Linked DNA regions of Homo sapiens: all the other regions are linked to region 3. Evidence: promoter capture Hi-C in 16 types of primary human blood cells and fetal thymus (Javierre and others, 2016). All regions are on one chromosome and are shown on one strand. The core of a region is centred on a gene start or on the middle of the fragment in contact, and the rest is flanking DNA. Distances in the headings are between cores, read along the strand shown.

Region 1 (2,700 bases), core at 19-2,518, 410 kb before region 3:
TTGATTTTTGTTTTTTTAAAAAAATCTAATAATCAAATTACTTTAAATATCTTATACCATCTATAAGAAAAGTAAACCGAAATAATATATTTCATTTACTTAGCACATATTTAGAAAAGCAGAATGAGATAATAAAGCACAAACATAGAGGTTTTCTTTAAAATAGTACTCTTGGCTGGGTGCGGTGGCTCACGCCTATATTCCTAGCAACTTTGGGAGGCTGAGGCGGGTGGATCACTTGAGGTCAGGAGTTCAAGAGCAGCCTGGCCAACATGGTGAAACCCCATCTCTACTAAAAATACAAAAATTAGCTGGGCATAGTGGTGCATGCCTGTAATCCCAGCTACTTGGGAGGCTGAGGCAGGAGAATCACTTGAACCTGGGAGGCAGAGGTTGCAGTGAGCCAAGATTGCACCACTAGCACTCCAGGCTGGGTGACAAGAGCGAAACTCCGTTTCAAAAAAAAAAAAGAATAGTATTCTCAAGCAGTTTAGAAGCAATAAAATATGCAGTGCTTACCTCATCATCATTAACAAGCTCTTTTTTCACAACTTTCATTGCATAAATACGATCTGTTTTTTTTAATCGAACCAACAGTACTTTGGCATAACTTCCTCTTCCTATTACCCGGAGCAAATCAAAATCCTGAAGACCTAGACTGGATGAAGCTTTGCCACTTTCCCTGGTGTTCATTGCCTGTTGAGAACATTTGTATCAGAGTTATAATGGGAAATGCTTTGCGTAGTACATTATATTTCTAACACCTAGTTGTACCTATAACGATTTAAAGATATTTTCCTAACATAAAAATATTTTAAGTTCTTAATATTTTTCAAATGTCATTCCAAACCAAATAATCTAACTATCCAGATTATATGGATGAATTTTGAGATAAGAGGGATGGTAATAAGAATGGGGAGGGAGTTGAAATCACAAAAACATCGAAGGATGTCTTAAAAAGGATACGATAACTTTTGGGTACAGAGGCAATAGAGATGCAGGAATTAAAAAAACACATTAACCTTGGTGACCAAGAGATTGGGGGTACCACTGACAGGGAACGTCAAGTGTGTGGCTAGGATAAGATTGACAAAGTTACTGGAGAGAACGATTGGGTTTTTCATGATAAATTCAGAAGTTATAATGAGACATCAAGATGAAAGAGTCTGCTGGAAGCTTGATACATAGAATGTAAGCTAGTGAGAGCACACATTCAGAGGCGTTTTTGGATGCTATAGACAGAAAACAAGCATGAAGTAGTTCAGCGAATGGAAGACATTCTTTTCCACAGAATACCAAGACCCCTTTGGGACGACAAAGTAAGCCTTAAAATTCATTCACAACTACAAATGTAAGCTTCTAGCAATTTACAGAGAAGCCTGAAGACAGTCTTTTATTAGATGCCTGCAAAATCATCAGCACACAATGGACCCATGAGAATAAAGTATGAAATCTCTGAAGTGAAGAATACCAAGAAAAGCAAATAGTAAATTTTGAGAAAGATAAAGAAACCCGCAAGCACAAAACTGAAAGAAGGGTATTAGAAAAACTGAGTGAGAATGACAACTTAAAAACTTAGAAATAATAATTTAGGCTGCGCACAGTGGCTCATGCCTGTATTTTCAGCACTTAGGGAGGCTGAAGCAGGTGGACTGATTGAGCCCAGGAGTTCAAGACCAGCCTGGGCAATGTGCCAAGAAACCTCATCTCTACCAAAATATACAAAAATTAGCCGGATGTTGGTGGTGTGCACTGTAGTCCCAGCTACCTGGGAGGCTGAGGTGGGAGGATCACCTGAGCCAGGCAGGTCAAGGTTGCAGTGAGCTGTGATTGTGCCAGTGCGCTCCAGCCTGCATCACAAAGTGAGACCCTGTCAATAATAGTAATAATAATAATAATTTGATTTGGTAACAAGGTGATAGTTTGTATATCTGACCCCTCCAAATCTCAAATCTCATGCTGAAATGTGATCCCTAGTGGGAGGTGTTTGGGTCACAGGGACAGATTCCTCATGAATGGCTTGGTGTGTTCCTGTGTAATGAGTGAGTTCAGAGTGTGGCACCTCCCCTGACTCCCTTGCTCCCTCTCTTGCCATGTGGCACACCTGCTTCCCCTTTGCCTTCTGCCAAGACTGAAAGCTTCCTGAGAAGCAGATGCTAGTGCAATACTTACTGATCAGCCTGCAGAACCGTGCACCAAATAAATCTTGTATAAATTACCCAGCCTTAGGTATTCCTTTATTCCTTCCTTCATTTATTTATTTATTTAAGAAAAGGTCTTGTTCTGTCACCCAGGCTGCAGTGCAGTGGCACGAACATAGCTCACTGCAGCCATGAACTCCTGGGCTCAAGTGATCCTCCTGCCTCAGTCTCCCAAGTAGCTGGGGCTACAGGCATGTGCCTCCAAACCCGGCTAATTTTTATTTATTTTTTGTAGACATGGAGGGTCTTGCTATGTTGCCAAGGCTGGTCCTGAACTACTGGCCTCAAATGATCCTCCCGGTCTAAAGTCCTAGGATTATAGGTGTGAGCTGCCACACCCAACCTTCAGGTATTCCTTTGTAACAACACAAAACAGACTAACACACAAGGGTAAATACAGCAGAGTGAAAAGAAACCAGGTTTGAGAAGGTTAAGAAAGAAGAGAAGTGTAAGAAAGTAAGTCAACACATAGACTTGAAATATGGCTAACTGGAAACTA
Region 2 (2,700 bases), core at 89-2,588, 300 kb before region 3:
GTAGGCACATGTGACTAGTTGTTACTGTATAGGACAGCACTGATCTACATTACTATTTGTTATGGTTGCATGGTAAAGGTATTTCTCTCCACACCCAAGCCCTGAATTCTACGAAGTTTTATCCAAAAAGGTTATGCCAACTTGAATTTTTACTAGCAATATGGGAGTATTGGTTTCCCCAGGTAGTAGTAGTATTCTTTTAAATCTTTATCCATCTGAAAGTTGGAAAACAGTATCTTGTTTTAATTTGTAAGTTTTTGACTACTGGTGAGATTGAAAATCTTTTGAAATGCTTAGTTGGCCTGGCCTGTCTTTTGCGAATTGTCCACTGGGTTTTGTTTTGTTTTTTTTTTTTTGAGATGGGAGTCTTGCTGTGTCGCCCAGGCTGGAGTGCAGTGGCATGATCTTGGCTCAACTGCAGCCTTCACCTCACAGGTTCAAGCGATTCTCCTGCCTCAGCCTCCCGAGTAGCTGGGGCTACAGGCATGTGCCACCATGCCTGGCTAATTTTTTGTGTTTTTAGTAGAGACGGGGTTTCACCATGTTAGCCAGGATGGTCTTGATCTCCTGACCTTGTGATCCGCCCACCTCGGCCTCCCAAAGTGCTGGAATTAACAGGCGTGAGCCACCGTGCCCGGCCCACTGGGTAGTTTTAATGTGTACAAGTTAGTGATTTCTAGTGATATGTAACTAGGAAAGAAATAATGTTAATAAGCTTGATGATATTATGTATTAAAGCAGTGAAATTTTAAACTGCCACTTTTTTATACTTTGATTTTCTGATTAAGATAAAGGTTGAGATTATGGTTTGACATTGGTTCAATTGACTTATCACAGGTAATTCAACAGGCATTGCATCGGCCCCCCAGCTCAGCTGCTCAGTACCTTCAGCAAATGTATGCAGCCCAACAACAGCACTTGATGCTGCATACTGCAGCTCTTCAGCAGCAGCATTTAAGCAGCTCCCAGCTTCAGAGCCTTGCTGCTGTTCAGGTAAGACTAAAATAAGAGTTTATGAGATCAAAGTTTCTGTTATCTGTAGGTAGTTACTGAAAATAAATAGATTGGGTATTATTTCAGAGTTCTCAGATGTCCTGTGGTTATTTTTCCCGGAGGAAATATATTAATAGGTTGCCGAATAGAAGTTAATTGAGAAAAAGGGGATATGTTTTTTTATGTTACTCTGTTTCTAGCTTTTGTCTCAGTGCTTTTTATCCAGATTGAAGAAATGCTATGCTAGTTTATGTGTATAAAGTTCTAGGTACAACAGTGAGTACTTAGGCTTACATAAATTGTATTTTTACTAAAAATAAGATTAAAAAAATTATATAAGTAATTATACTCATTAAAAAATCAAACAATATTAAGTTGTTTATAAGAGATAAAGTAAAGCTGTTCCTTTTCCCTGTCTATCACTGTTTCCCGTTCTTCAAAGGTGGCCACAGTAACAATCTAATACATATTTCTCCAGAAATTTTTTATACAAAGATAGGTATATCCATTTTTCTAAAATCCAATCATATTATTCCTACTGATAACAGGATTTCATTATTAAATGCTTGTTTTTAAAAAAGATTTTTGTTACTATTGTACTATTTAAATAAAGCTGTGTAAGATTTAATCTTAAATCCCCTCACCAGAGGAGGATCTCAATTGACTGAACCTGAAAAAGGTTTATTTCTGTTACCAACAGATTCTCAGCTGTTGCTTCTTAGTAGTGTAATTTTTAAATAACATGTTTGTGATACAAGTTAGGAAACTGAAACCCACTCACTGGCTCTTGCTGTAGCTCTAATTTCTTTTTCATAACTCTGGAGTAGTGATTCCACTTTAAAGATGACAGAGACCCATAAAGTGAAACTGACAATAAAGTAGCTAATAAAATAAGATTAGTCTTTGGATCCCCTGTTTTCACCATTCAGCTTTTCCTTATTTAAAAAATCTGTTTAACCGAAGCTTAAGCCATGTTGACTATAAAATTAGTTGTTTCATACATAGGCCTTTTGACATTTATTGTTGTGGTTTTGTGTTATCATGGTACCAGAAAGTTCTTAACTTCAGGTTTTTACCGACATATTCTAAAAGTCTTACTATTTTAGGCAAGTTTGTCCAGTGGAAGACCATCTACATCTCCCACAGGAAGTGTCACACAGCAGTCAAGTATGTCCCAAACGTCTGTAAGTTCCCTAAATTTTTTTTTCCTGGATTTAAAATTTTAAAGAATTGTTTTCCAAAAGTAAACTGTTGTTATTTATGAAGCTGTTATTATAATTTGTTGCATGCTGTTTAAAGTAACAATTGCCCAGAAATAGAAATGATAAAATTCAAGAATTCAGAACTAATGTTAAACTTATGAAAATCTGAGTCTTAAAAAAATCTTTTTGTATTATTTCTTGTATATCCATTTGCACTGATCATGTTCAGATCTTATGTGGTTTCAGCTTTCTGTGTGTATTGAAAGCCTAAAATATACAATGCAGGGATATTGGCCATGAATTTACTGTGATATACAATAGTATGTCATGTCCTTGGTAGACATCTAAGCATTTCTAACTTTGTGCAATTCACATTTTAGAAATTATACTTTCAGCTTACATGAGTTATTTGGGTTCAATTTGCAAGTATCCATTCAAGATAGGGTAATTTATTTTGAGAAAGGAGTAAAAGAAAGCTGATTCGCTATATTGCACATATATATTG
Region 3 (2,700 bases), core at 58-2,557:
AAAGAAAAATGGAATGTCCAATTGTGACTTCCAAAGCAGTGCTCCAAGTGCATGGAACATTCCAGCCCTCACGAGTGGAGGTGGGCTCTGCAAGGTCCATTTTTAGGATTCCCTGTGTAAAATGTTTCTTGGACCATTCTGGAACATAATGTTACAGAAAGAGCTATTTTATTAGAGAGGAGACTATGAAAACTGTAATTTCAAGAATACTTCTGCTGGGCATGATGGTTCACACCTTTAAGCCCAGCACTTTGGGAGGTCGAGGTGGGCGGATCACTTGAGGCCAGAAATTCAAGACGAGCCTGGCCAACATGGTGAAAATCCATCTCTATGTCAAAACAAAACAAAACACTTCTGTGTATCCCTTTAGTTTAAGTCCTTAGCCCTCCCATAAAATATAAGCAAATTTCAGGAGAGATAATAGATTGACCTTTACGAATCCTTTTTAGCTTCAATTCATACCAGACCTCACCCCTAACCTCCACACCCCCTGACCCACATCCCCACCTCCAATGCTAGGCTCTTCCAGCCGTTCCTGCCTGGGAGCTCTTGAGCTTACCCTTTCTTCTGCCTGGGATACTCTTCCCTCTCTTAAAAAGCTAACTCGCAGTCCTTCAAAACCCAGGCAATGTCACTCACTGTTCCAAGTCTGTTCTCCAAGGCATGCTTAGTTTACTGTGGGTTCCCTGACCACCTCCCATCTCTTGGCTCTTGTCCCACTCAATCAATGGCATACAGGTCCATCTTCCCACCAGGTTAAGATCCCATCAAAGACAAGAACTGTCTCTTGTTCGTCATTGAATCTTTTGCATTTAGAACATTAACTGGCCCACAGTAGATTCTTTAAAACTATTTATGGAATGAATGAATTCTTTACTGCCAACATGTTTCAGTGGGGTGGTGGTGCAGGGTTGGGGGTAGAGAAAATATGAATATGCAAAGAGAAAAAGGAGCTTATGTGCAAAGGAAGGAGGTGGGGGTCACCAGAAGGCAGAGGTCGCTGAAGGCAAACTCCTCTGGGGACAGCTTTGCAAATGGCCAGTCCCTTTTAAAGGCATATTAAGTCTTCAGGTAACTAATTGACAGCTGTAATTTAAGATGTGTTGACACACTTGATGTGCTTGCCAAAGTCATGCTTAATGACTTGTATCTCACACAATGAAATAGGGCAAAGTTAAAAACTCAAATTGCTTTGAGTTTGTATTGGCTTCTGGATCCTGGGTTACATCATTCTTATTTTCATGTTAAACATTAACAGCAATAAAAAAACAGAAAAAGAAAGGTGGTGCGGCAGGGAGTGGGGGGCAGTCATGTAGGGGAGGATATTTTGATTGAACACAGGCTTGACAGAATCTTCTTTTCTTCTTAGAAATCCTAGAAAACAGAAAGCAACAGGAAGATGTCTTATTGGGAACTACCCCCATCAACTTCACCATGAGTCAAACAAGGAAGAAAACTTCCTCAGAAGGAGAAACTAAGCCCCAGACTTCAACTGTCAACAAATTTCTCAGGGGCTCCAATGCTGAAAGCAGAAAAGAGGACAATGACCTTAAAACAAGTGATTCCCAACCCAGCGACTGGATACAGAAGACAGCCACCTCAGAGACTGGTAAGCTGCTGGCTGCTGGTGTTTTTGCTGTTGTATTTGTTTTGTTTTTACTTCCACATTTAAAATATTTTTATTTTTAATTTTTGTGGGTACATAGTAGGTGTATATATTTATGGGGTATATGAGATGTTTCAATACAGGCATGCAATGCCTAATAATCATATTGTGGAGAATGGGGTATCCATCCCCTCAAGCATTTATCCTTTGTGTTACAAACAATCCCATTATACCTTTAGTTTTATTTATTTATTTATTTATTTTGAGACAGAGTTTCACTCTTGTCACCCAGGCTGGAGTGCAATGGCGTGATCTCAGCTCATAGTAACCTCTGCCTCCCGGGTTCAAGCGATTCTCCTGCCTCAGCCTCCCGAGTAGCTGGGATTACAGATGCGCACCACCATGCCCAGCTAATTTTTGTGTTTTTAGTAGAGATGGGGTTTCACTGCATTGGCCAGGGTGGTCTCGAATTCCTGACCTCAGGTGATTTTCCTGCCTTGGCCTCCCAAACTGCTGGGATTACAGGTGTAAGCCATCACACCAGGCCTCTTTTAGTTATTTTTAAATGTGCAATAAATTATTGCACATTTAAAAATAACTAAAAGAGCACAACGGGTTGTTTGTAAACAAAGGATAAATATAGTCACCCTGTTGTGCTATCAAACAGTAGATCTTATATATTCTATTTTTTCTGTACCCATTAACCATCCACACCTCCCCCACCAACAACACACACACCCTTCCCAGCCTCTATGTTTCTTTATTTTTTAGAGTTTTCTTCTAAAGTGATCTTATGGGTTAAACTAAAGACTTTAAGACTTTTGAGACTAAAGACTCAACTATGAGTCTCTGTGCTAATCATTTATTATGTTACTTACATGCTTTAAATGATTCATAATTTTACTTTTAAATTGTTAAAAGCAATATAACACTACAGAAAAATGTAGGGAAAATACTGAATTTCCTTTCATTATAACACAAACGATCATTTCTTTAAGATTCTTTTCAGTCTTTTCTTTTCATATGCATGCATTTATGTTCTGTCAGTCAGCAGTCAATAAATCTTTATTGAGTGCTTGCTATGTAGTAACCCC
Region 4 (2,700 bases), core at 58-2,557, 450 kb before region 3:
TGATCCAATATATTTGAGACTTATGTTCTAGGGTAATGCTGTCCAATAGAAACATAATGTGAGCCACAAATGTGAGCTTCATGTGTAACTTTAAGTCTTCCATAGCCACAATTTTTTAAAAAAGTGAAATTAATTTTAATATTATATTTAATCCAGTATGTCCAAAATATTCTCATTTCAACAAGTAACCAACATCAAAATTATAAATGAAATATTTTTCATTTTTTCAACTAAGTCTTCAAAATATAGCATGTAGTTTACAGTGGCACCACATCTCAATTTGGACTGGCTACATTGCAAGTGCTCAATAGTAGTACATGTGGCTCATGGCCACCATGGTGGACAACACAGCTCCCAGGTATTAGGTCCTGGATATTAGCGGATATATGAGACAAGTGCTGCCTCTAGAACTGCTTCTGATGACAGACTTCTTGGGGTTGAGACATAACTGAACCTGCCTCATCTCCGCAGTACACCCAAGGCGGTAAGAAGTGAATTACAACTCATTAAACATCTACTTTTCAGTTAAGCACTTTTACGTCCATTTCATTTAATTTTCTAGCACCTACTTTGAGGTAGAGCTTATTAAACTATATCAAACATGAAGAAATGGAGTCATAGAACTAGTTAGAATCCCAGTCTTTTTTTTTTTTTTTCCTTTTTTTCAGTCATCTTTCCATCAGGCCAAAGAATCCTTCTCTTCCTCCAGAGCCCCGAACCACAAATTCTTCTGAACAACACTCATTGCCTCTTCTAAAAGCTACTGAGCTCATTTCACTTACTGTTTTGTAATGCTGTTACCTACTGAGGACGCTTTCATAGAGCAAGCGAGCAAAGTCTGTGCAGTCAGACCACAGGGCAGTCACGGTGCCCTCCTCCATCTCCCGAAAGGACAAAAAATGCATATTATACAGGCCACTCATACTCTCCAACCGTGATCTGTCTGATTTCCCAGCATGGAACTCTCCTGGTTGGGGCTGCTTTATGTGAAGTCAATCTGTAGTAGATTAATTAAACACTGTATTGATTTTGTATTCTCTGGGGCACTTCTAAAAGGGTTATATTCTTGAAGCCCCTTCTCTGAGTTAGTAGAACACTTCCCCTTTGCAAATGTGATACTTAGAATTTTATTACAGTCCTCCCACCCACCTCCACCCAGACATCACCCCCTCCCCGTCTTCGCGTGGCATAAAATCAAGTTCTGGCCCTTCCCAAAAGACAGTCATGGCAAGAAAAGAGGGAGGGAGTCCTGCTGGTTTTCAGGTCATGTTGATTTAACACTTCATGATTTATGCATTCTGGCTGTCTTGCTTGTAGATTTTCATTTTTACATCCTGCTAAATACCTTGCAGGGTGTTGTTTCTTTTAATTAGTTAATGTTTGTAAGGCACGTTACAGATGAAAGTGCTGTGTCAGTGCTAAATGTGAACATTGGGGTATCCTCAAGCTGTCCTTTGTCTGCCCAGGGGTTTTCTGTGTAACGCAAATTGTGAGAGAGATCTGCATTTGGAAAAAGGCTTGGCTGTTCTGTTTTAGACTGTAGGTCACTAAAATATACGTATTTGGGAATTAAAAATGGCAGTAAACACAGGACATTTTGCATTAGCACAGTTTTCTGACCCCGATGTAACAGTGCTTTCTCTACTTACTGGAAGTGTGATGATCTGATGCAGAGTGAGAAAAGAACATTCCCTACGAACTGGAATTGTGCGGTTTCTGTGGCAGAACCTTAACCTTCCTGATATGTAACAAATAATACATGGTTGGGTTTATGTTTTGTTTCGTCTGTTCAGTGAGTGGGTGACTGAAACAATTTAGCTGCTTTTCTACTGTGTCTGCGTAGGAAAATGGATTCATTTAAAATTACAGCACGTTAATTAAGTGTTCAGTAATATTTCACTAAGAAAAATGTTAAATACCAGTTTTATTTGTTTTTGCAACATATTCACTAAAACTGAGTTTGTCACATTTCTACGGGTGTAAAGATTCATGTTAGGCATGTTTATTAAGGTGTTTGATTTCATATGGACCATTTTTGGAAACACACAAAAAAATGTTTTCTTGTGGAAGGTTGGCTTTCCATTCTTTATTTTCTAATCATCAGCTTTTAATCTAGGTTGATATTTAAAAATAAGAAATCTGCATAAAGCCAAGCAGAGATAGTTGGAGACTTCTATTTTACATAACAGCAAGGGTTACAAAAAATGTGACTTTTTTGGTACCTTTCATTTCGTATATAAACAAAAAATAAGGTAAATTTGCAGCCTAAAACCCACTTGATAGTTTCTCTCAAATCCACAAAATGGCTGTCACCTGCAACAAATTTACAGTAACATTAATAAATGATATTTTGGCTGATCCAGAGTTTATTCTAAGACTGTAGCAAATTATCCCTTCCTCTTTTCATTGATTTTCAATGTAAGAAAATCCTCACTTTATTCTTAATAATCAACATTCCTAAATGCTCCAGCAGGATCCTCAGTCAATGTAAATTTACATAATTCATCTTCTTCCACTCAACTTGTTTTTCTATAATTAGTGCAGCTGTCACCAGGGAGCCACATTCTTGTGGGCAGGTAGCTATGGGTACAGAAAGCAGGCTTCAGTCAAACATTTCCTTTTAAACCATCCATTTGTTTTTTCTCCTCTTATTTCAAATAAGTCGAGTCCTGTAACGAAGAATTTGTTTCCTACCTAGCA
Region 5 (2,700 bases), core at 72-2,571, 270 kb before region 3:
ACCATAGAAAGCCATTTCAGGGTCATGCAGAGTCTTTTCAGTTCATGAGATGTAGTTTTCAAAGGCAGTGAATGTTCAATAACACCACCACCAAAATTTTACTAAATTAAAAGAGTTGCTTGAAAATGCTTTTCATAATTTTCACAATGGGGCAGATGATTTGATGAATTAATTTTCTTACAAGGTTAATGTCCCCTTAATCTCTATAGCTAGAACTGGTAACTTTTAAATGCAGTATGTTGCAGAGTAATTTCCTCATATTCACAGTTCATACATATATAATACACACACTGTCTGTATATATATATACATACTGCTTTTATTTAGTTCTTTATGATCCTTCCCTTCTCCTCCCCTTCCCTCCCCCTTTCTTCTTCCCTCTCTTCCTTTCTTTTTTTTCTCTCCCTCCCTCTTTTCTTTTCTCTTATGTCTTTTAAAAAATTGCCACTTAATATTTAAGATGTGATTACTTAGAATAATAACTCTCCTTTCCTTAAGGATTAATCAGTTCTTTCAAGTGCTTGGAGCTTTACGTATGAAAAGCATAATATAAATGTGTTGTCAGTATTGTCATAATGGTAATGATGACCACATCAATTAAAACCATCTGTTTTCATCCTAATTTTCTGTTATGTGGTTCTTAGGTTCAGAATTTAACATTACGCAGCCAGAAGTTGGGTGTATTATCTAGCTCACAGAATGGTCCACCAAAAAGCACTAGTCAAACTCAGTCATTGACAATTTGTCATAACAAAACAACAGTGACCAGTTCTAAAATCAGCCAACGAGATCCTTCTCCAGAAAGTAATAAGAAAGGAGAGAGCCCAAGCCTGGAATCACGAAGCACAGCTGTCACCCGGACATCAAGTATTCACCAGTTAATAGCACCAGGTGGGATAAAACTTTTGTTGAAAATAGTTGTATTATTCATTTTCTTAGCAGACAGAGCAAAACAAAGGATGTTCATGACTTGAACAGGAGTGACACCTTTAAAACATTTTAAAATGTGAATTTTATAAACTTAATCTTAATGTGTAGCTTGAAAAGAGACAAAAAAGCCCAAAAGATAAAATAAATTGTAACAATATAATAGGTTTTTTAAAATCAAATTACATTTGATTATCATCTTTAAGCACTGGTCTCTCCTTATATTGATAAAACCTTCTATCTTTAAAAAAAGATTTGCCTGTAGTTTATTTAATATACTTCAGTGGGATAATTTTTAAAGCTTTTAAAAAAGCAGTATACTATTTTGTTTAAAGTTGTTATCAGTGGGAGAAATTTGTCACTTTGAAACATAGGATTATGCATAATTATTTTCCTTATGTTGTTGTCTTTTTCTGCCTTTGATTTCATCTCTGAGAGGATCATCTCAGGCAATCACCTGAGTCACTGTCATTCTTCTCAAGCTTTGAATTCTACCTTTGCTTCCTTTACTTTATCCAGATAATCTTGCCTCATGGTTCTCATACTGAAAATGTGGGGGCCATCCAGAGTGAGCTTACTGTCTCTTCTGTTCATCTCAGAATTTCTCAGGATTGAATTTTGTTTACTTTTGATAAGATAAAGAGTTACATGTATTCTTAAACTTAGCACCATTTGCCCCTGTTGTTGATCCTACCTTTTTTTTTTTAAATTTCCTGACCTTCTTTAGTACATAATTGTTACAGCGTCTTTTATCTTCTCATGCTAGACCTTTTCCTTTGTTTCTCAACCATAATTAGGTCTCCCTTATTCTTAATGTAGCTGCATAGTTTTCTAAATCACTATAACTATATATTGTTTGAGTGTGTGTGTATGTGTATGTGTGTTGCACTGGGCTATACACCTTACAAATGTTTCATTAAAAAAAAAAATCTGGGCGGGTGCAGTGGCTCACGCCTGTAATCCCAGCACTTTGGGAGGCTGAGGTGGGTGGATCACTTGAGGTCAGGAGTTTGAGACCAGCCTGGCCAACATGGTGAAAACCCATCTCTACTAAAAATACAAAAATTAGCAGGGCATGGTGGTGCACACCTGTAGTCCCAGCTACTTGGGAGGCTGAGGTATGAGAGTTACTTGAACCTAGGAGGCGGAGGTTGCAGTGAGCCAAGATTGCACCACTGCACTCCAGCCTGGGCGACAGAGCAAGACTCTGTCTCAAAAACAAACAAACAAACAAACAAACAAAAAACTTCCTTTGTTCCAGCAACCTCATCGGGTAAGCATCTTTTTTCTGTCCTTTTACAACGCTGCTTTGCTTTTTAAAGACTTGTTTTATACTTAGGTGTAAGTGTAAAATATTCCACTTAAACCTATTTCACTTCTCAAGTTTCCTGTGTTAATACTGCCAGCATTCTCTACATCACTGAATCTCAATACTGTGGCATTGTCTGATTACCCTAGTTAGAAATTTCTCCTCCCTCTGAACTTTTATGGTCCCTTCTGGTTCTCTTTCCTTTATAGTTACTTATATACTGATCTTAGCTTGTCTGCTAGATAGTAAGCTCCTTGAGGGTAAGATAATAATATTGGGCATTTATGTATGTGTGAGGCACTGTGTTAGTACTTTACATTAACTCTTTAATCCCTTTTTGGATTCATCTTTTCATCCTTGTATCTTGACAGCACTAAGTTGTATCTTATACGTACTTACGTATGTTAGGTAGGAGGTACATATTTGTTGGATTAATAGTTCATTTTTTTTTCCCACTTGGATTT
Region 6 (2,700 bases), core at 117-2,616, 320 kb before region 3:
AAAATTTACTGAGACTTATTTTGTGGCCTATCATATGATCTGTCTTGGAAAATGTTCCACGTGCTGAAGAGAAGAATGTTTATCCTGCAGTTCTCTGGTAGAATGTTCTGTAAATATCCGTTAGGTCCATTTGTTCTAGAGTGTAGTTTTAAATCCATTTTTTTCTTTGCCGACTTTCTGTCTTGATGATCTGTCTAATGCTGCGAGTGGAGTGTTGAAGTGCCCCACTATCATTGTGTTGCTGTCTATCTCATTTCTTAGGTCCAGTAGTAAATGTTTTATGAATCTTAGAGCTCCAGTATTGGTACATATGAATTTAGGATTGTAATATCTTCTTGTTGGATTGATCCTTTTATCATTATATAATTATCTTCTTTGTCCTTTTTTTTTTTTTTTTTACTGTTGTTGCTATTTACTTATTTATTTATTGAGACAGGGTCTGGCTTTATTGCTCAGGCAGGAGTAGAGTGGGATGATCACAGCTCACTGCAGCCTGAACCTACGACACACAAGTGATTGTCCCACTTCAGCCTCCTCATTAGCTGGGATTGCAGGCACACACCACCACACCAGGCTAATTTTTAAATTTTTTCATAGAGACAGGGTCTTGCTGTGTTGCCTAGGCTGGTCTTGAACTCCTGGGTTCAAGGGATCCTCCTGCCTCAGCCTCCCAAAGGGCTGAGATTGCAGGTGTGAACTGCCACACCTGGCTGTTGTTGCTTTAAAGTCTATCTTATCTGATAGAAGAATAGCTACTCCTGCTTGCTTTGGGTTTCCATTTGCATGGAATATCTTTATCCACTCCTTTACCTTGAGTTTATCTGAATCTTTATGTGTTATATAAGTCCCTTGAAGACAACAGATATTTGGTTTGCAATTTTTAGACCCATTCTGCCAATCTGTATCTTTTAAGTGAAGCATTTAGGCTGTTTACATTCAACATTAATATTGAGATTTGAGGCTGGGTATGGTGGTGGCTCACACCTATAATGCTAGCACTTTGGGAAGCTGAGGTGGAAGAATTACTTGAGCCCAGGAATTCCAGAGCAGCCTGGGCAACATGGCGAAACCCCATCTCTACAAAAAATACACACACACACACACACACACACACACACACACACAAACTTAACTGGGTGTGATGGTGCACACCTATAGTCCCAGCTACTCAGGAGGCTGAGGTGGGAAGCCCACTTGAGCCCAGGAGGTGGAGGTTACAGTGAGCCAAGATTGTACCACTGCACTCCAGCCCAGGTGACAGAGCAAGACCCTGTCCCCTCCCTGCAAAAAACAAAAAAACCCAAAAAGGCCATGCCTGCAATCCCAGCACTTTGGGAGGCTGAGGCGGGCAGATCACGAGGTCAAGAGATGGAGACCATCCTGGCCAACATGGGGAAACCCCGTCTCCACTAAAAATACAAAAATTAGCTGAGCATGGTGGCAGGCACCTGTAATCCAAGCTACTCGGGAGGCTGAGGCAGAAAATTGCTTGAACCAGGGAGTCAGAGGTTGCGGTAAGCCGAGATTGTGCCAATGTACTCTAGCCTGGCGCCAGAGTGAGACTCCATCTCAAAAAAAAAAAGAGAGATGTGAGGTACTGTTCCAGTCATCATGTTATTTGTTACCTAGATACTTTGTTTTATTCACTGTGTTATTGTTTTATATGCCCCATGAGTTTTATGCCATCAAGAGGTTCTACTCTAGTGCATATCAGCCTTTTGTTTCAGGATTTAGAACAGCTTTTAGCATTTCTTGTTGGGCTGGTCTGGTAGTGACAAGTTCCCTAAGCATTTGTTTGTCTGAAAATGATTTTATTTCTCCTTTATTTATGAAACTTAGTTTTGCTACATACAAAATCGTTGGCTAGGTTGGGCGTGGTGGCTCATGCCTGTAATCCTAGCACTTTGGGAGGCCAAGATGGGAGATGACTTGAGCTCAGGAGTTCAAGAGCAGCCTGGGCAGCATGGTGAAGCCCCATCTGTACAAAAAATACAAAAATTAGCCATGTGTGGTGGGATGCACTGAAGTGGGAGGGTCACCTGAGCCCAGGGAGGTTGAGGTTGCAGTGAGCCATGATCGTGCCATTCCACTCCAGCCTGGGCAAGAGAGTGAGACCCTGCCTTAAAAAAAAATTCTTAATGGGCCGGGCTTGGTGGCCCATGCCTGTAATCCCAGCACTTTGGGAGGCCGAGGTGGGTGGATCACAAGGTCAGGAGATCGAGAACATCCTGGCTAATACGGTGAAACCCCGTCTCTACTAAAAATACAAATATTAGCTGGGTGTGGTGGCGGGTGCCTGTAGTCCCAGTTACTGGGGAGGCTGAGGCAGGAGAATGGCGTGAACCCAGGAGGTGGAGCTTGCAGTGAGCCGAGATGGTGCCACTGCACTCCAGCCTGGGTGACAAAGCAAGACTCCCTCTCAAAAAAAAATTCTTGCTGGGCGTGGTGGCTCACGCCTGTAATCCCAACACTTTGGGAGGCTGAGGTGGGTGGATCATGAGGTCAGGAGTTCGAGACCAGTCTGGTCAACATAGTGAAATCCCGCCTCTACTAAAAATACAAAATTAGCAGGGCATGGTGGTGCATGCCTGTAATCCCAGCTACTTTTGAGGCTGAGGCAAGATAATCACATGAACCCAGGAGGCAGAGGTTGCAGTGAGCCGAGATCGTGCCACTGTACTCCAGCCTGGGCGACAGAGC
Region 7 (2,700 bases), core at 65-2,564, 280 kb before region 3:
GTATTTTTAGTAGAGATGGGGTTTCACCGTGTTATCCAGGATGGTCTCAATCTCCTGACCTCGTGATCCGCCCGCCTCGGCCTCCCAAAGTGCTGGGATTACAGGCGTGAGCCACCGCGCCCGGCCTCAGAAGATTCTTAAATGGGTAATTAATATTAATAATCAGGGAAAGATTATCTGGCAAGTAGAAGGTGACAAGATTCCAGTAAGAGGTATCAGTTTGCAGATATTAAAGTAATCAAGCCAGAAATGACATGGGCCCAAAGTCTCAAACTAAGTGATGAAAAATCAAAATGGAAATTAGGAGACAAAAAGATGTATTAGAAACAAGATACGTGACTGATTTTGTGTGTGTGGTAAAGGAGAGGGAAGCATCAGGATGACTTCCAGATACTGTGTCTTGGAGAATTTTAGAAAATGCCAGTGCCATTTGAGGAGAAGCTGTTTTAAAAGGAATAATTAGTTTGCTGTTTGAACATGCTGAATTTGAGCTGGTAAAGGATACCCAGAAAGATGTGTTCTGTAGGTATTTGGATCTGGAACTTCAAAAAAGGGTTTATAGTTAAGAATCAAGAGTCATCAGGATTGAATTGTTTGAAACCGTGGAAGTAGATATGATAATCTAGGAATTCAAGAAGAAAAGTGTGGTCTGGTGCGATGGCTCATGCTGGTAATCCCAGCACTTTGGGAGGCTGAGGTGGGGGTATCGCTTGAGCCCAGGAGTTTGAGGCAAGCTTGGGCAACATGATGAAACCCTGTCTCTACAAAAAATAACAAAGATTAGCCGGGTGTGGTGATGCATGCCTGTAGTCCCAGCTACTCAGGAGGCTGAGGTGGAAGGATCATCTGAGTCTAGGAAATTGGGGCTGCAGTGAGCCATGATCACTCCACTGCACCCCAGCCTGGGTGACAGAGGGAGACCCTGTCTCAAAAAAAAAAAGAAGAAAAGTGTCAAAGACAGAGCATGAACATTTTGGGAGTGGGTGCAAAAGAAGAGCTGGTAAAGAAGACTGAGAGGGAATGGTCTGAAAAGATTCCACTGATTTTGTCAGTTAGATGTTGGTGACTATTGTTAAGGTGATTTCAGTGATGTGTTAGGAATAGGATCTAAATTACAGAATAGGCTGGGCACGGTGGCTCACGCCTGTAATCCCAGCACTTTGGAAGGCCGAGGGGGAGGGATCGTGAGGTCAGGAGATTGAGACCATCCTGCCTAACACCATGAAACCCTGTCTCTACTAAAAATACAAAAAAAAAAAAAAAAAAAAAATTAGCCAGGCGTGGTGGTGGGCGCCTGTAGTCCCAGCTATTCAGGAGGCTGAGGCAGGAGAATGATGTGAACCCAGGAGGTGGAGGTTGCAGTGAGCTGAGGTCGCACCACTGCACTCCAGCCTGGGCGACAGAGCGAGACTCTGTCTCAAAAAAACAAAACAAAACAAAACAAAAACAAACAAAATTACAGAATAATTCTGTATTGTATTAGTGGTATTTATGCATTGATTTATACATTTAACTATTATATTAAAATAAAAATATGTGATATATATACATTTAGAGAATTAGATAACCAACTGTCATGTGCCTACTATACAGTTTTTTAAACTTTTTTATTTTAAAATAATTATAAATTAAATTCCTATAAATCATAGGAAGTTGCAAAACTAGTACAGAGAGGTCCTCCTATATAAACTTCACTCAGCTTCCTCCAGTCACCATTCAGTTTAACAAGTGTCCTGGGTTAGTTCAGATGTTAATGTCTTGGGCTGGGTTATGGAACCGTACAGGGAGTGTGGATGTGGATTCTATACCCCTACCTGGTGTAAGCCTGGAGTTTTGATTCTCATAGGTACCTCCTTCCCTGCCTCCACTAGGAGCAGGGCAGATGCAAGCTTCTTTGCTGTTTCTCAGAACGTATGGGTGGAGCTTTTCCAGCTCCTTCTTACATATTGGGCAGCTCTTTTCAGGATTTTGGCTCAAAATAGGGATTTGACTTGTAGCCCTCCCCTGAAATAAGCACAAAGATGGATCTTCTGGCTCTATAGAACCAAGATACCCTTATAGACTGCCTTGGTGTCAGCTGAGGTGACATCTCTCTGGCTTTGAGTTTCTTCCTTTCTGGCACCAGGAATTTCCTTTCCCAGCTTTTCTCTCCCTTTTGGAGTTCTGCTGTATATTCTGATTTTTTCATGTTGATCTAGCATTTCAGTGATACCGTTTGGTCACATGGATGTATTAGTCCAGTCTGCCTTGTTGCTTGAATAAGAAGTCCAATAAAGTATTCTTTTTTCTAATAAAATATTTATTAATTGTATTCTGTGCTTTGTTCCACAAAATGATTTGAGGTTGGATTATATTATTCTCTGTTTAAAAATATTATTATTATTATTACTAGTATTTGAGACAGAGTCTCGCTCTGTTGCCCAGGCTGGAGTGTAGTGGCGTGATCTTGGGTCACTGCAACCTCCGCCTCCCGGGTTCAAGCGATTCTCCTGCCTCAGCCTTCTGAGTAGCTGGGATTACAGGCGCGTGCCATCACACCTGGCTAATTTTTGTATTTTTAGTAGAAATGGGATTTCACCATGTTGGTCAGGCTGGTCTCAAACTCCTGACCTTGCGATCCGCCCACCTCAGCCTCCCAAAGTGCTGGGATTATAGGCTGGAGCCACCTCACCCGGCCAAAAATATTATTTATTTTTAAAA

Evidence for each region. The method cuts DNA at HindIII sites, captures the fragments that hold promoters and counts their contacts. A CHiCAGO score of 5 or more calls a contact.
Region 1: a contact is called between a fragment that was not itself captured here and the fragment with the promoter of LRRC31 in region 3, in 2 of 17 cell types (total CD8 T cells and non-activated CD4 T cells). The highest score is 5.2, in total CD8 T cells.
Region 2: a contact is called between a fragment that was not itself captured here and the fragment with the promoter of LRRC31 in region 3, in 12 of 17 cell types (naive B cells, total B cells, naive CD4 T cells and 9 more). The highest score is 15.5, in naive B cells.
Region 4: a contact is called between a fragment that was not itself captured here and the fragment with the promoter of LRRC31 in region 3, in 1 of 17 cell types (neutrophils). The highest score is 5.9, in neutrophils.
Region 5: a contact is called between a fragment that was not itself captured here and the fragment with the promoter of LRRC31 in region 3, in 4 of 17 cell types (total B cells, naive B cells, naive CD4 T cells and 1 more). The highest score is 8.9, in total B cells.
Region 6: a fragment that was not itself captured here is called in contact with the fragment with the promoter of LRRC31 in region 3 in 5 of 17 cell types (neutrophils, total B cells, naive B cells and 2 more); the score reaches 7.8 in neutrophils.
Region 7: a fragment that was not itself captured here is called in contact with the fragment with the promoter of LRRC31 in region 3 in 2 of 17 cell types (naive B cells and total B cells); the score reaches 5.1 in naive B cells.

Annotation. Positions count from the first base shown.
Region 1 is chr3:170,278,223-170,280,922 of GRCh38, reverse strand. PRKCI (protein kinase C iota) reads right to left here. Exons shown (of 18, transcript NM_002740.6): 9 at 520-696. Among named protein-coding and RNA genes, the nearest start is that of PRKCI, 57 kb to the right of the region's middle. The HindIII fragment of the contact is 180 bases long and covers 1,179-1,358 here.
Region 2 is chr3:170,170,850-170,173,549 of GRCh38, reverse strand. It overlaps PHC3 (polyhomeotic homolog 3), which reads left to right. Exons shown (of 15, transcript NM_024947.4): 3 at 838-993; 4 at 2,100-2,177. Among named protein-coding and RNA genes, the nearest start is that of PHC3, 9.5 kb to the left of the region's middle. The HindIII fragment of the contact is 1,241 bases long and covers 718-1,958 here.
Region 3 is chr3:169,868,542-169,871,241 of GRCh38, reverse strand. LRRC31 (leucine rich repeat containing 31) reads left to right here and starts at 1,307. Exons shown (of 9, transcript NM_024727.4): 1 at 1,307-1,609. The coding sequence starts at 1,435. The HindIII fragment of the contact is 9,706 bases long and covers 1-2,700 here.
Region 4 is chr3:170,321,693-170,324,392 of GRCh38, reverse strand. No RefSeq gene overlaps it. Among named protein-coding and RNA genes, the nearest start is that of SKIL, 35 kb to the left of the region's middle. The HindIII fragment of the contact is 3,885 bases long and covers 1-2,700 here.
Region 5 is chr3:170,134,610-170,137,309 of GRCh38, reverse strand. PHC3 (polyhomeotic homolog 3) reads left to right here. Exons shown (of 15, transcript NM_024947.4): 7 at 645-891. Among named protein-coding and RNA genes, the nearest start is that of PHC3, 46 kb to the left of the region's middle. The HindIII fragment of the contact is 181 bases long and covers 1,231-1,411 here.
Region 6 is chr3:170,191,497-170,194,196 of GRCh38, reverse strand. No RefSeq gene overlaps it. Among named protein-coding and RNA genes, the nearest start is that of PHC3, 11 kb to the right of the region's middle. The HindIII fragment of the contact is 3,214 bases long and covers 1-2,700 here.
Region 7 is chr3:170,150,908-170,153,607 of GRCh38, reverse strand. The region is part of intron 4 of PHC3 (polyhomeotic homolog 3); the gene reads left to right. Among named protein-coding and RNA genes, the nearest start is that of PHC3, 29 kb to the left of the region's middle. The HindIII fragment of the contact is 1,155 bases long and covers 737-1,891 here.